4 separate regions of the Homo sapiens genome follow, and all the other regions are linked to region 1. Evidence: promoter capture Hi-C in human tissues and cell types (Jung and others, 2019). All regions are on one chromosome and are shown on one strand. Each heading gives the region's core, a stretch centred on a gene start or on the middle of the fragment in contact. The rest is flanking DNA. Distances are from core to core; before and after follow the strand shown.

Region 1 (2,918 bases), core at 90-2,589:
GAGTGATGCAGAGGCAGGGGGCTGGAGCAGGTGACTGCTGGCAGCTGCTGTCTGTCTGTGATTGGACCGGAGGACTAAGGGGAGAAAAAGTTTATCAGCTTCTCCCAGTGCCTGCACGCTGTGGTAGTTCAAAAGACACGAGGGGGAGGGGCACAGCAGCTCTGCTTCCCAGCGCCTTGGGAGACTGAAGTGAAAGGAACGCTTGAGCCCAGGAGTTCGAGACCATCCTGGGCAACAAAGCAAGACCGCCCCTCACCCCATACAAAATAAAAATACAAATAAATTAGCCGGGCACAGTGGCGCATGCCTGTAGTCTCAGCTACTGGGAAGGCTGAAGTGGGAGGATAGCTTGAGCCCAGGAGATCAAGGCTGCAGTGAGCTGTGATTGCACCACTGCAGTCCAGCCTGGGCGACAGAAGGAGACCGTTTTTTGGTTTTGTTTGTTCGTTTAAAAAAAAAAAGAAGCAAGAGCTCACTGTGAACTCCTGGTTCCTTCCTCCCCTCCTCACACTTCCCAGAACTCTTCCTGTCACGGTTCCTGGCCAGAACGCTGGGATACTATCTACAAGCTGTAGTAGGCTTGTAGTAATGGAATGTCCGCTTGAGGGGTCCCCGCACAGCCAACCCCTGCCTCTGGAGTGGGATCTATGGGGGTGGGGTTCTAAGCGCCTCTGGGGAGTGTGAGGTAGCATCTCAGGGTGTGGCAGAGGCTCGGACACCCCCAAAAGGTCTGCGAATGGAAGGGACATAGGCAGGATCTCTCTCAGTGATGTCCCCTGTCTTCCAGGATGAAGAGAGGCAGTGAAACACCAGGAGAGCAGGGCGTCCTTTAGAATTCCTGGACCCTTCTCCAGGCTGCTAGTCAGGACAATGAGCTCGTGGTTGTCTTTGCCACTATCTTCCTGTGCGATTTCAGACAAGCCACCTCCCTCACTAAGCCTAAATTTCCCCATGTGTAACGTGCAGGCATTGTACCCTAGAGGCATCAAAGTCCCCTCCAGGACAGATGCTAAGGAAAGATAGGCTAGGAGCAAAGCCGTCTGAGGTGGCCTGACCAGAGCCACACGAGGCTCTTCTCACTGGGCGAGGCTCTTTGAGGAACCGAGAGTTGCTGGGACCCAGCCCGCCCTCGAGAGAGCAAACAGAGCGGCGCTCCCCTCCCCCGACCCCGGCCCTTTGTCCGGAATCCAGCTGTGCCCTGCGGGGGAGGAGCGGGCTCGCGTGGCGCGGCCCCAGGGCCCCGGCGCTGATTGGCCGGTGGCGCGGGCAGCAGCCGGGCAGGCACGCTCCTGGCCCGGGCGAAGCAGATAAAGCGTGCCAAGGGGCACACGACTTGCTGCTCAGGAAATCCCTGCGGTCTCACCGCCGCGCCTCGAGAGAGAGCGTGACAGAGGCCTCGGACCCCATTCTCTCTTCTTTTCTCCTTTGGGGCTGGGGCAACTCCCAGGCGGGGGCGCCTGCAGCTCAGCTGAACTTGGCGACCAGAAGCCCGCTGAGCTCCCCACGGCCCTCGCTGCTCATCGCTCTCTATTCTTTTGCGCCGGTAGAAAGGTAATATTTGGAGGCCTCCGAGGGACGGGCAGGGGAAAGAGGGATCCTCTGACCCAGCGGGGGCTGGGAGGATGGCTGTTTTTGTTTTTTCCCACCTAGCCTCGGAATCGCGGACTGCGCCCAGTGACGGACTCAAACTTACCCTTCCCTCTGACCCCGCCGTAGGATGACGCCTCAACCCTCGGGTGCGCCCACTGTCCAAGTGACCCGTGAGACGGAGCGGTCCTTCCCCAGAGCCTCGGAAGACGAAGTGACCTGCCCCACGTCCGCCCCGCCCAGCCCCACTCGCACACGGGGGAACTGCGCAGAGGCGGAAGAGGGAGGCTGCCGAGGGGCCCCGAGGAAGCTCCGGGCACGGCGCGGGGGACGCAGCCGGCCTAAGAGCGAGTTGGCACTGAGCAAGCAGCGACGGAGTCGGCGAAAGAAGGCCAACGACCGCGAGCGCAATCGAATGCACAACCTCAACTCGGCACTGGACGCCCTGCGCGGTGTCCTGCCCACCTTCCCAGACGACGCGAAGCTCACCAAGATCGAGACGCTGCGCTTCGCCCACAACTACATCTGGGCGCTGACTCAAACGCTGCGCATAGCGGACCACAGCTTGTACGCGCTGGAGCCGCCGGCGCCGCACTGCGGGGAGCTGGGCAGCCCAGGCGGTTCCCCCGGGGACTGGGGGTCCCTCTACTCCCCAGTCTCCCAGGCTGGCAGCCTGAGTCCCGCCGCGTCGCTGGAGGAGCGACCCGGGCTGCTGGGGGCCACCTTTTCCGCCTGCTTGAGCCCAGGCAGTCTGGCTTTCTCAGATTTTCTGTGAAAGGACCTGTCTGTCGCTGGGCTGTGGGTGCTAAGGGTAAGGGAGAGGGAGGGAGCCGGGAGCCGTAGAGGGTGGCCGACGGCGGCGGCCCTCAAAAGCACTTGTTCCTTCTGCTTCTCCCTGGCTGACCCCTGGCCGGCCCAGGCCTCCACGGGGGCGGCAGGCTGGGTTCATTCCCCGGCCCTCCGAGCCGCGCCAACGCACGCAACCCTTGCTGCTGCCCGCGCGAAGTGGGCATTGCAAAGTGCGCTCATTTTAGGCCTCCTCTCTGCCACCACCCCATAATCTCATTCAAAGAATACTAGAATGGTAGCACTACCCGGCCGGAGCCGCCCACCGTCTTGGGTCGCCCTACCCTCACTCAAGTCTGTCTGCCTCTCAGTCTCTTACCACCCCTCCTCCAATGTGATTCAATCCAATGTTTGGTCTCTCAGCGCTTACTCCCCTTGCCTTGCTCCAAAGACGCTGCCGATCTGCTCTACTCCCAATCAGGTCCGGGATTTCAGGGCGCCTCACTCTGCCTTAAAGCCACGAAGGCGACCCTCTGCCTTCTCCT
Region 2 (2,797 bases), core at 226-2,725, 64 kb before region 1:
TGTGGGGAGTCCCTCTCAGCTCGTCTCAGGGTGCAGTGTGACCCAGGAGGCAGTGTTCAGGTGAGGCCACTGCGCCTTTTCAAGGAGCCAGATGAGGGCAGAAATTGCACCCTATCCAACTGCAAAGGAGACTGAGAAACCCTATAAGGTTGTGATATCTCCCCTTGGGCCCTGGAGAAAGGGAGACAGTTCTGTCAAGATCCCCACATTTCAGGGAAAAACCCCATGGGTTGGTTCAGGGTCAGAGCTGCAAGGCCCTGAGGGTCAACTGAGTCAATCCCCCATGGTACAGGTGAGCCCAAGACAGGGTCGACAACTCAAACACCAAAATACTGCAGGATGAAAATGCTCTTCATGTACTCATATAAAATGTGCCAAGATACACTGCTAAGTGAAAAATGCAAAAGGCAGAGAAAAACGTGTCAAATTTTTCTATTATTTGTATAAAAAAAGAAAAAATAGTATATTCATGTTTGCTCATATTTGCATAACTAAATTCTGGAAGTATTTAGAAGACACTAAGAACAGTAGTTATAGTGGAGTGGAGGAGGGATGGATGGATGGGGACAGAGGAGGGAGAAAGGCTTTTCTCTATATACATTTGTACATTATATCATCTGAACCACACGAATGCATTACTTTACAAAGAGTAAGACTTTTAAAATAGCTTGCTCAAGATCATACCATGTTTCCCGCAGTTGTGGGGTACTCTTACCCGCCAGGGAGTGAAATGATTTGGGGTGGTGCACAAGATGATTATAAGCAATTTACAAACACAGCACCGAATCGGATGGTGAGGAAGTCATTCCTCTTTGTTTCTCTTCAGTCCTCTGAATCCATCGAGGAGAATGTCTCAGTGAGGGGCCAGTGAGGCTTCTGCACCACTCCCAATCTTCATAAACTGACTTTTTTAACAAAGAAAGCAGGCATCAGGCTAAGGGCTTGGACAATGGCAGTGACTAGCTAAAATGGAATATCATTCGTTTTGTCCTGGATTCATTTGTACGAATACCTACTGTGAATGGCAAGTAGTATTGGCTTTCCATTTACAATAGTAATATGAAGCTTCCTTTTAAAAAATTAATTTAAGATGTGAGCTGCTGTTAAAAAAAAAAATGTTAAGTGAGTCCTAATACCATTTCTCTGTGAATACAGTAACATTGAGCACTAACTTGTGCCAGAAACGGCTAAGTGCTTCCCATGAATTAATGTACTTGATCCTCTCACTGTGGGAGGTGCAGATGAGGACACGGAGGTTTAGGGAGATGCTGGGTTGTGCCAAGGCCTCTGGTTAACAGAGCTGAAGCCGGGAATGGGAAGCAGGCATTCAGCCCCCAGCAGGGCCCCCGCCCACCAGAGGGACTGGAGCTGGCCGCTGGGCCAATGCAGACCAGCCCTGGCTCCCAGCCCTGTGCCCCACCTGCCTGGGCACTTGGGGCAGTGGCCCTCCAGCTTCATCTCAAGTAGCTCCAACCTTCTCCTTCCAAACTCTGAGTCCCTAAAGCCATTTGGTTTCAGCCCTGCCCCCAGCCTCAAACCAGAGGCTCAGAGGCACACACATACACCCCTCCATACACACCCCCTTTGTAATTCTTTGAAGCTCTCACTCTACCTGCTTCTTGAACTTTCTCTTGCTGCTCTTTTGGGCACTGGGTGGCAGCACCAGGCGGGGTAGGCTTGCTTGTCCTACTGGCTGGGCAGGCTGCAGGTTCTCTATCTAGTTTTGGCAGCAGAGCTCTGCTGCCTCCCTCCCCTGCCCCCACTTAACCCTTTGAGAGATCACTGGATTTGTCACTTTGCAATGAAAATATGCATTCGGGAATGCAGGGAAGAGAGCTAAATCTCCATGACTGTGACCCAGGACTGGGAAGCCACTGAGGCCACCCAGCTGGGCAGCTGCAGCCAGCACCCTTGCACCAACTTCTGTGCCCTCTGCCCCCACACAGCTGATCTCATGGGGCTGCAGGCAGGTCTTAGCAGGTAGTACAGCTGGGCATCTGTATCTGCAGGTTTCTAGGCGATGCTGATGCAGGTACGGCCAGAGGTAAAAGAGAGGAGTGGTCAAGAGCAAGGGCTGTAGGTCTCTGAATCCTAGCTCCACCCAGCTCGCTCTGGGTCCTACAGCAAGTTATAAACCCTCTGCCATGTCCTCTGTCGTGAAATAAAGATGACAGTGACAATATTTATGTCATAAGGTGCTAGTGACAATTAAATGACATAACGTGCTTAGCACAGGGCCAGGCACTCCATACACTCTCAACAAACAGCATCCAGTCCTGACATTCAACACCAGCAACAAGCCCCTCAGCTTTCAGGAGCACAGCGAAGTGGCTGTGTTTCTTCTCTAACAGCTGCGGGAGGGGCAACTCTGCTCTTAAAAGCCCAGCACCGCCCCAGCCAGGGATCCCAGGTGCCTTGGACAAGGCAGCCACTCTGGAGCCAAAGCTGCCAGTACAGAAGCTGTGGGCCATGGTGCAGCACCTGCAGAGGCAGCTCAGGGGCAGGCGCAGTCCCCCTCTCCACGGCCCTCTGCCCACCTCCTACCCACCATGCTTTCAGTGATCCCCTGAAAGGCTCTGAGAGGCGGGCAGGTCCCAGATCATCATCCCTTCACAGGGATGAGGAAACCAAGGCTCAAGAGGCTGAGTGAACTGTCCACAAAGAGCAGAGCCAGGCCTGCAAACAGGCCTCCTGTGCCACCCGGTGAGCCAGAGCGCAGGGGCGGCTTTCCTCCCCTGTCCTCAGGTTCAGGCATCCAAGTGGACAGACGCCTTGACCACTGCCTCAGGGCTTCCCC
Region 3 (2,750 bases), core at 119-2,618, 36 kb before region 1:
CACAAATACCACACTGTCTTGATTACTGCAGTTTTATAGTAAGTCTTGGAGTCAGGTAATGTTAGTCCTTGAACTTTTTAATTCCCCTTCAATATTGTGTTGGCTATTCTGAGACTTTTGCCTACCCATGTAAACTTTAGAATCAGTTTGTCAATAACCACAAAACAACTTGCTGGGATTTACATTGAGATTGTGTTGAATCAAATTGGGAAGAGCTGATATCTTGATAATATTGAGTCTTCCTATCCATGAACATGGGATATCTCTCAATTTATTTAGTTCTTCTTTGATTTCTTTCACAAGAGTTTTGTAGTTTTCCTCGTGTAGATCTTATACATATTTTGTTAGATTTACACCTGAATATTTTATTTTGGGGGATGCTAATGTACTTGATGTTGTGCTTTTAATTTTAAATTCCACTTATTCATTGCTGGTATATAGGAGAGTGATTGAATTTTGTATATTGACCTTGTATCCTACAACCTTGCTATAATGGCTTATTATTTCCAGGAGGGGTTTTTTGGTCAGTTCTTTCAGATTTCTTTCAGATTTCAGATGAAACAAGGAGTTTTCTTTCTTAATTCATAATCTGTACACCTTTTTTCCTTTTCTTATTGCATTAGCTAGGACTTCCAGTATGATGTTGAAAAGCAGTGGTGAGACGGGACATCCTTTCCTTGTTTCTGAAGAAGTGCTTTTAAAACTTATGCTTGAATTGTGTTTGTTCATGTCCCATTGGTCAATACACATCAGTTTCTTTTTTTAAATTTTTTTTAAAAAATTGTAGAAATTGGGTCTTGCTCTGTCACCCAGGCTGATCTCAAACTCCTAGCCTCAAGCAATCCTCCCACCTGAGCCTCCCAAAGTGCTGGGATTACAGTACAAGCTACTGCACCTGGCTCATATTCATTTCCAGAGATGGAGAAATAAACTCTTCATCCCACTTCAAGGGATGCATCTCTCAGTGGCAGGTACAGCTATGTCACACTGTAGAAGGATATGCATGGGATGAATTTGTAGTCATCTTACAGTTTACCATAACTACCTTGCTGGTTCCCTAATAAATTCAAGCAGATGTTGTGTTTTTAAATTAAGTTTTACATTTTAAGATAACTTTATATTTATATTTTATTTTAAGAAATAATACATAGCAATCCATCACACTCTTTACACAGTTTCTTCCAGTGGTAACATTTTGCAGAACTGCAGTACAATATCCCACCAGAGTACTGACATTGACACCATCAGGATAAAGAACACTTTCATCACCACAGTGCTTCTCATATTGCCTTTTTATAGCCACAGCTCATCTTTAATCCTTGTCAACAATGAATCTGTTTTCCATTTCTATAATTTTACTATTGCAAGAGTATGATATAAATGGAATCATATAGTATGTAACCATTTGGAGTTGGCTTTTGTACCCAGTATAATTCTATGCAATTCTATTCATTTAGGTTGTTGTGCCTATCAGTAGTTTATTCCTTTTCACTGCTAAGTAGTATTTCATGATATGGACATACCACGGTTTAACCATTTATACATTATATAACAATTGTGCTGTTTCCAGTTTGGGCTATTAGGAATAAAGCTATTATAAAGATTCATGTACAAGTTTTTGTGTGAATCTAAGTCTTCATTTTCTAATTGAATTGTTTGGGTTTTTACTGTTTAGTTTTGAGAGTTCTGTATATATTCTAGATATTAGTCCTCTGTTGGATATAGGCTTTGCAAGTACTTTCCCCACTCCATATCTTGTCTTTTCATCCTTTTAGCAGAGTCTTTGACAGAGAACAGGTTTTGAATTCTGATAAAGTCCAATTTATCCATTTTTTTTCTCTTATAGTTCTTGCTTTTGGCACCATGTCTAAAAGCTCTTTATCCCTACATCCTGAAGAATTTTTATAATTTTTTCTACAAGTTTTATAATGTTATGTTTACACTTAAGTCTAGAATCTGTTGATTTAATTTCTGCATAAGTGATGAGTTTCTTTTCTTTCCTTTCCTTTTTCCTATGAACATCCACTGGCTTCAACACCACTTCTTGAAATGGCTACCTTTTCTTCATTTAATTGCATTTGTACCTTTATTTTTAAAAATCACTTCGAGCTGGGAGTGGTGGCTCATGCCTGCAATCCCAGCACTTTGGGAGGTCAAGGCAGGCAGATCACTTGAGCCTAGGAATTTGAGAGCAGCATGGGGAACATGGCAAAATCTCATCTCTACTAAAAATACAAAAATTAGCTGGGCATGGTGGCATACACCTAGAGTCCCAGCTACTCAGGAGGCTGAGGTGGGAGGCTCGTTTGAGGCCAGGAGACAGAGGTTGCAGTGAGCCAAGATCATGCCACTGCACTCCAGCCTATCACCCTGTCTCAAAAAAAAAAAAAAATCAGTTAGGCATATTTGTGTGGGTCGTTTCTGGGCTCTCTGTTCTGTTCCATTGATCTATGTGTCTATTCCTCTACACATCCTTGATTACTATAGCTATATAATGTCTCAAAATAAAATAGACTTAATTGATTTAGCTACTATTTTTTTCCAAAATTGTTTTGCCATTCTAGTTCCTTTGCATTTCCATATAAATTCTAGAATAATTTTGTCTATATCTACAAAAAATCTCTCTGGGATTTTAATAGGAATTGTGTTAAACCTGTATATCAATTTGGACAGAATTAACATCTTTACTATGTTGAATCTTCCCATTCATAAACATGGTGTGTTTCTCCATGTATTTAAAATTATTAATA
Region 4 (2,834 bases), core at 324-2,823, 34 kb after region 1:
GAGAGTCCATCTTGTGGCAGCTCTGCCCTCCAGCATGCAAGCATGTTGGGGTATATCCTCCATAGAGCAGACACACAGACTTCACTCTCACCAAGGCCTCCAGCACCACTTAGGGCAGCCAGCTCTCCTTCAAGAATTGAAAACTTCAGTTGCCACATTCAACCCTCCCACCACATTTTGTCGCTGGGGACCTCATCTCGTAATTCATGGAGAAAAAAATAGAAGCCTTCTGATTGAAATCCCCTCACATTCATGCCCCCTTGCCTACAAGCAGTGGCCAAACGACTATTTCCCAATACCCATCCTCCTCTTTTTCATCTTGGGAGGATTTTAAGCTGTGCATGGGCACCAAAATAAAGACTACATTTGCAGTGGTGCAATCTCAGCTCACTGCAAGCTTTGCCTCCCGAGTTCACACCACTCTCCTGCCTCAGCCTCCTGAGTAGCTGGGACTACAGGTGCCTGCCACCACGCCTGGCTAATTTTTTTAAATGTTTTTTGTAGAGATGGGGTTTCACCGTGTTAGCTAGGATGGTCTCGATCTCCTGACCTCATGATCCACCCACCTTGGCACTTTGAGAGGCCGAGGCAGGTGGATCACTTGAGATCAGGAGTTCGAGACCAGCCTGGCCAACATGGTGAAACCCTGTCTCTACTAAAAATACAAAAATTAGCCGGGCATCATGGTGCATGCCTGTAATCCCAACTATTCAGGTGGCTATGGCAGCCTGGGTGACAGTGAGACTCTGTCTCAAAAAAAAAAAAAGACTACATTTTCCAGCATCCCCCTGCAGCAAAGTGTGGCTGAGGGCTAAGCTCTAGCCTATGTGAGATAAGTAAAAGTGATATATGTGTTTCTGGGTTTCTTCCTTAAAAGGAGGGTGTTGTACACTCTTTCCCATCTTCTTGCTAGCTGGAACATGAACATGATGGCTGGAGCAGGAGCAGCTGTATTGGTCTTGAGGTAAATCTGGAGACAGGTTATTCCCCTGGGAGCAACATAATAGAAGGAATCTGAGCTCCTCTCACCATGGAATCAGCCCCAAACTAATTTCTGGAGACTTCTTCAGCATGAGAGAGACACTCTCTGGTTGGAGCCCTGTTCCTTTTCCTTTTCCTTTGAATTTTCTATTCCTTAATCCTGCAGGGGCTGAGTCTTCTTCTCCTTCTCCTTCTCCTTCTCCTTCTCCTTCTTCTTCTTCTTCTTCTTCTTCTTCTTCTTCTTCTTCTTCTTCTTCTTCTTCTCCTTCTCCTTCTCCTTCTCCTTCTTCTTCTTCTTCTTCTTCCTTCTTCTTCTTCTTTCTTCTTCTTCCTCTTCCTCTTCCTCTTCTTCCTCTTCCTCTTCTTCTTCTATTTTTTTTGTTACATGAATGAGTTCTTTAGTGGTAGTTTCTGAGATTTTGGTGTAGCCATGACCTGAGCAGTGTACACCATACCCAGTGTGTAGTCTTTTATCCCTCACTCCCCTCCCACCCTTTCCTGCAAGTCTCCGAAGTCCATTATATCATTCTTATGCCTTTGTGTCCTCATAGCTTATCTCCCACCTATACATGAGAACATACAATATTTGGTTTTCCATTCCATCTCAGAGGCCTTCAAGCCCCCAGGCCTGGTTCCTACTCTATCAACTGCTCTCTGTCTCCAAAAGACTGTCCTTGCTAATGTCACCAAGGACCTCTATGAGCCAAATTTAGGACTTTTCAGCCTTCATTTGACTCCCAGTCCCTTCAATATTGAAGGCTGTTGACTACCCCTTCATTTGGAATCTCTCTGTCCCTTCTTTCATGTCCTCACACTCTCTCTGACTAGTCCTCCCTCAAGCTTCTCACAAGGAATGGCTTCCCTTTTCTTCATACTGCACACTACTGCAGGGTAAGTTAATCTAGCTCTTTGCAGGGAGCTGTGGACAGAGCTTGGACACACAGGCTGGGGCGTCTACACGTGCATGCAAGCTCTCAACACACAGGAAGGAACTGGAGGTGGGAAAATAACTCTCAGGCTGGTCATGATCTCTCAAACCAGAATTCCCTTCATGCCAGCTGCCTATGGAGCCTCTAGTCAGTCATTGTGATGGTCATGAGTGACCTCACTGAGTGCTGACTGTGAGCCAGGCTGAGTGATGCACTTTACGTGGATTATCACCCTCTGTGGAGTCCCACACTCCTGTGACTCAGGTGTTGTTACTTCCCTTCAAGGCATCAAGAAGTTAAGGGACTACCCAAGGCCACTGTAGCTAGTAAGTGGGGAAGGTGGGATTCACACCCAGGGGTCTTGCTCCAGAGCCTGGGCCTAAAACCACTCAATATCTTCAAACAAACCTCCTGCTCCTCTGTCAGCCCTTTGTATATCAGAGGTGCCATTATTCATGCCCTCAGAAAAGCCAGGGTCCTGGGAGGAGGGGTCCTCACCTCTCAGACAGGGTCATCACCTCTTACCTCTTTCTCCGACCCACATTCAGCCATCACTAAACCAGGCAAACCCCCATATCAGTAACTTTCAAATCCATTCCTGTTAGGGAATGAATGTTTGTTTCCCCCCTCCATTCCTGTGTTGAAGCTCTAACACTCACTGTGATGGTATTTGGTGATGGGGCCTTTGGAAGGTGATTAGGTTTAGATGAGGTCATGAAGGTGGGGTCCTCACAATGGGATTAGTGCCCTTATAAGAAGAGACTCCAGGGCTTCCTCTCTACCACATGAGGACAGAGTGAGAAGATGGCTGTCTGCAACTGCCCTAAGGGCCATCACAAGAACTCAACCGTGCAGGTCTTGATCTCAGACTTCCAGCCTCCAGAACTGTAAGAAATAAATGTCTGTTGCTTAAGGCCCCCAGCC

What was found. Contacts are between HindIII fragments. The study calls those that stand out against the background at their distance.
Region 2: a fragment that was not itself captured here is called in contact with the fragment with the promoter of NEUROG3 in region 1 in 1 of the 25 tissues and cell types used here (H1 embryonic stem cells).
Region 3: a contact is called between a fragment that was not itself captured here and the fragment with the promoter of NEUROG3 in region 1, in 1 of the 25 tissues and cell types used here (mesendoderm cells).
Region 4: a fragment that was not itself captured here is called in contact with the fragment with the promoter of NEUROG3 in region 1 in 4 of the 25 tissues and cell types used here (H1 embryonic stem cells, IMR-90 fibroblasts, liver and 1 more).

What each region holds. Positions count from the first base shown.
Region 1 is chr10:69,571,843-69,574,760 of GRCh38, reverse strand. It overlaps NEUROG3 (neurogenin 3), which reads left to right and starts at 1,339. Exons shown (of 2, transcript NM_020999.4): 1 at 1,339-1,551; 2 at 1,717-2,918. The coding sequence starts at 1,718. The coding sequence ends at 2,362. LOC101929021 (a long non-coding RNA gene) reads right to left here and starts at 1,804. Exons shown (of 4, transcript XR_946037.2): 1 at 1,694-1,804. RefSeq lists a silencer at 1,069-1,288 and an enhancer at 2,546-2,918. The HindIII fragment of the contact is 13,443 bases long and covers 1-2,918 here.
Region 2 is chr10:69,635,983-69,638,779 of GRCh38, reverse strand. No RefSeq gene overlaps it. Among named protein-coding and RNA genes, the nearest start is that of FAM241B, 7.1 kb to the right of the region's middle. The HindIII fragment of the contact is 5,328 bases long and covers 1-2,797 here.
Region 3 is chr10:69,608,039-69,610,788 of GRCh38, reverse strand. No RefSeq gene overlaps it. Among named protein-coding and RNA genes, the nearest start is that of FAM241B, 21 kb to the left of the region's middle. The HindIII fragment of the contact is 6,856 bases long and covers 1-2,750 here.
Region 4 is chr10:69,537,894-69,540,727 of GRCh38, reverse strand. It overlaps LOC105378345 (a long non-coding RNA gene), which reads left to right and starts at 2,148. Exons shown (of 3, transcript XR_007062177.1): 1 at 2,148-2,236. It also overlaps a transcript of TSPAN15 not described here. The HindIII fragment of the contact is 3,776 bases long and covers 1-2,834 here.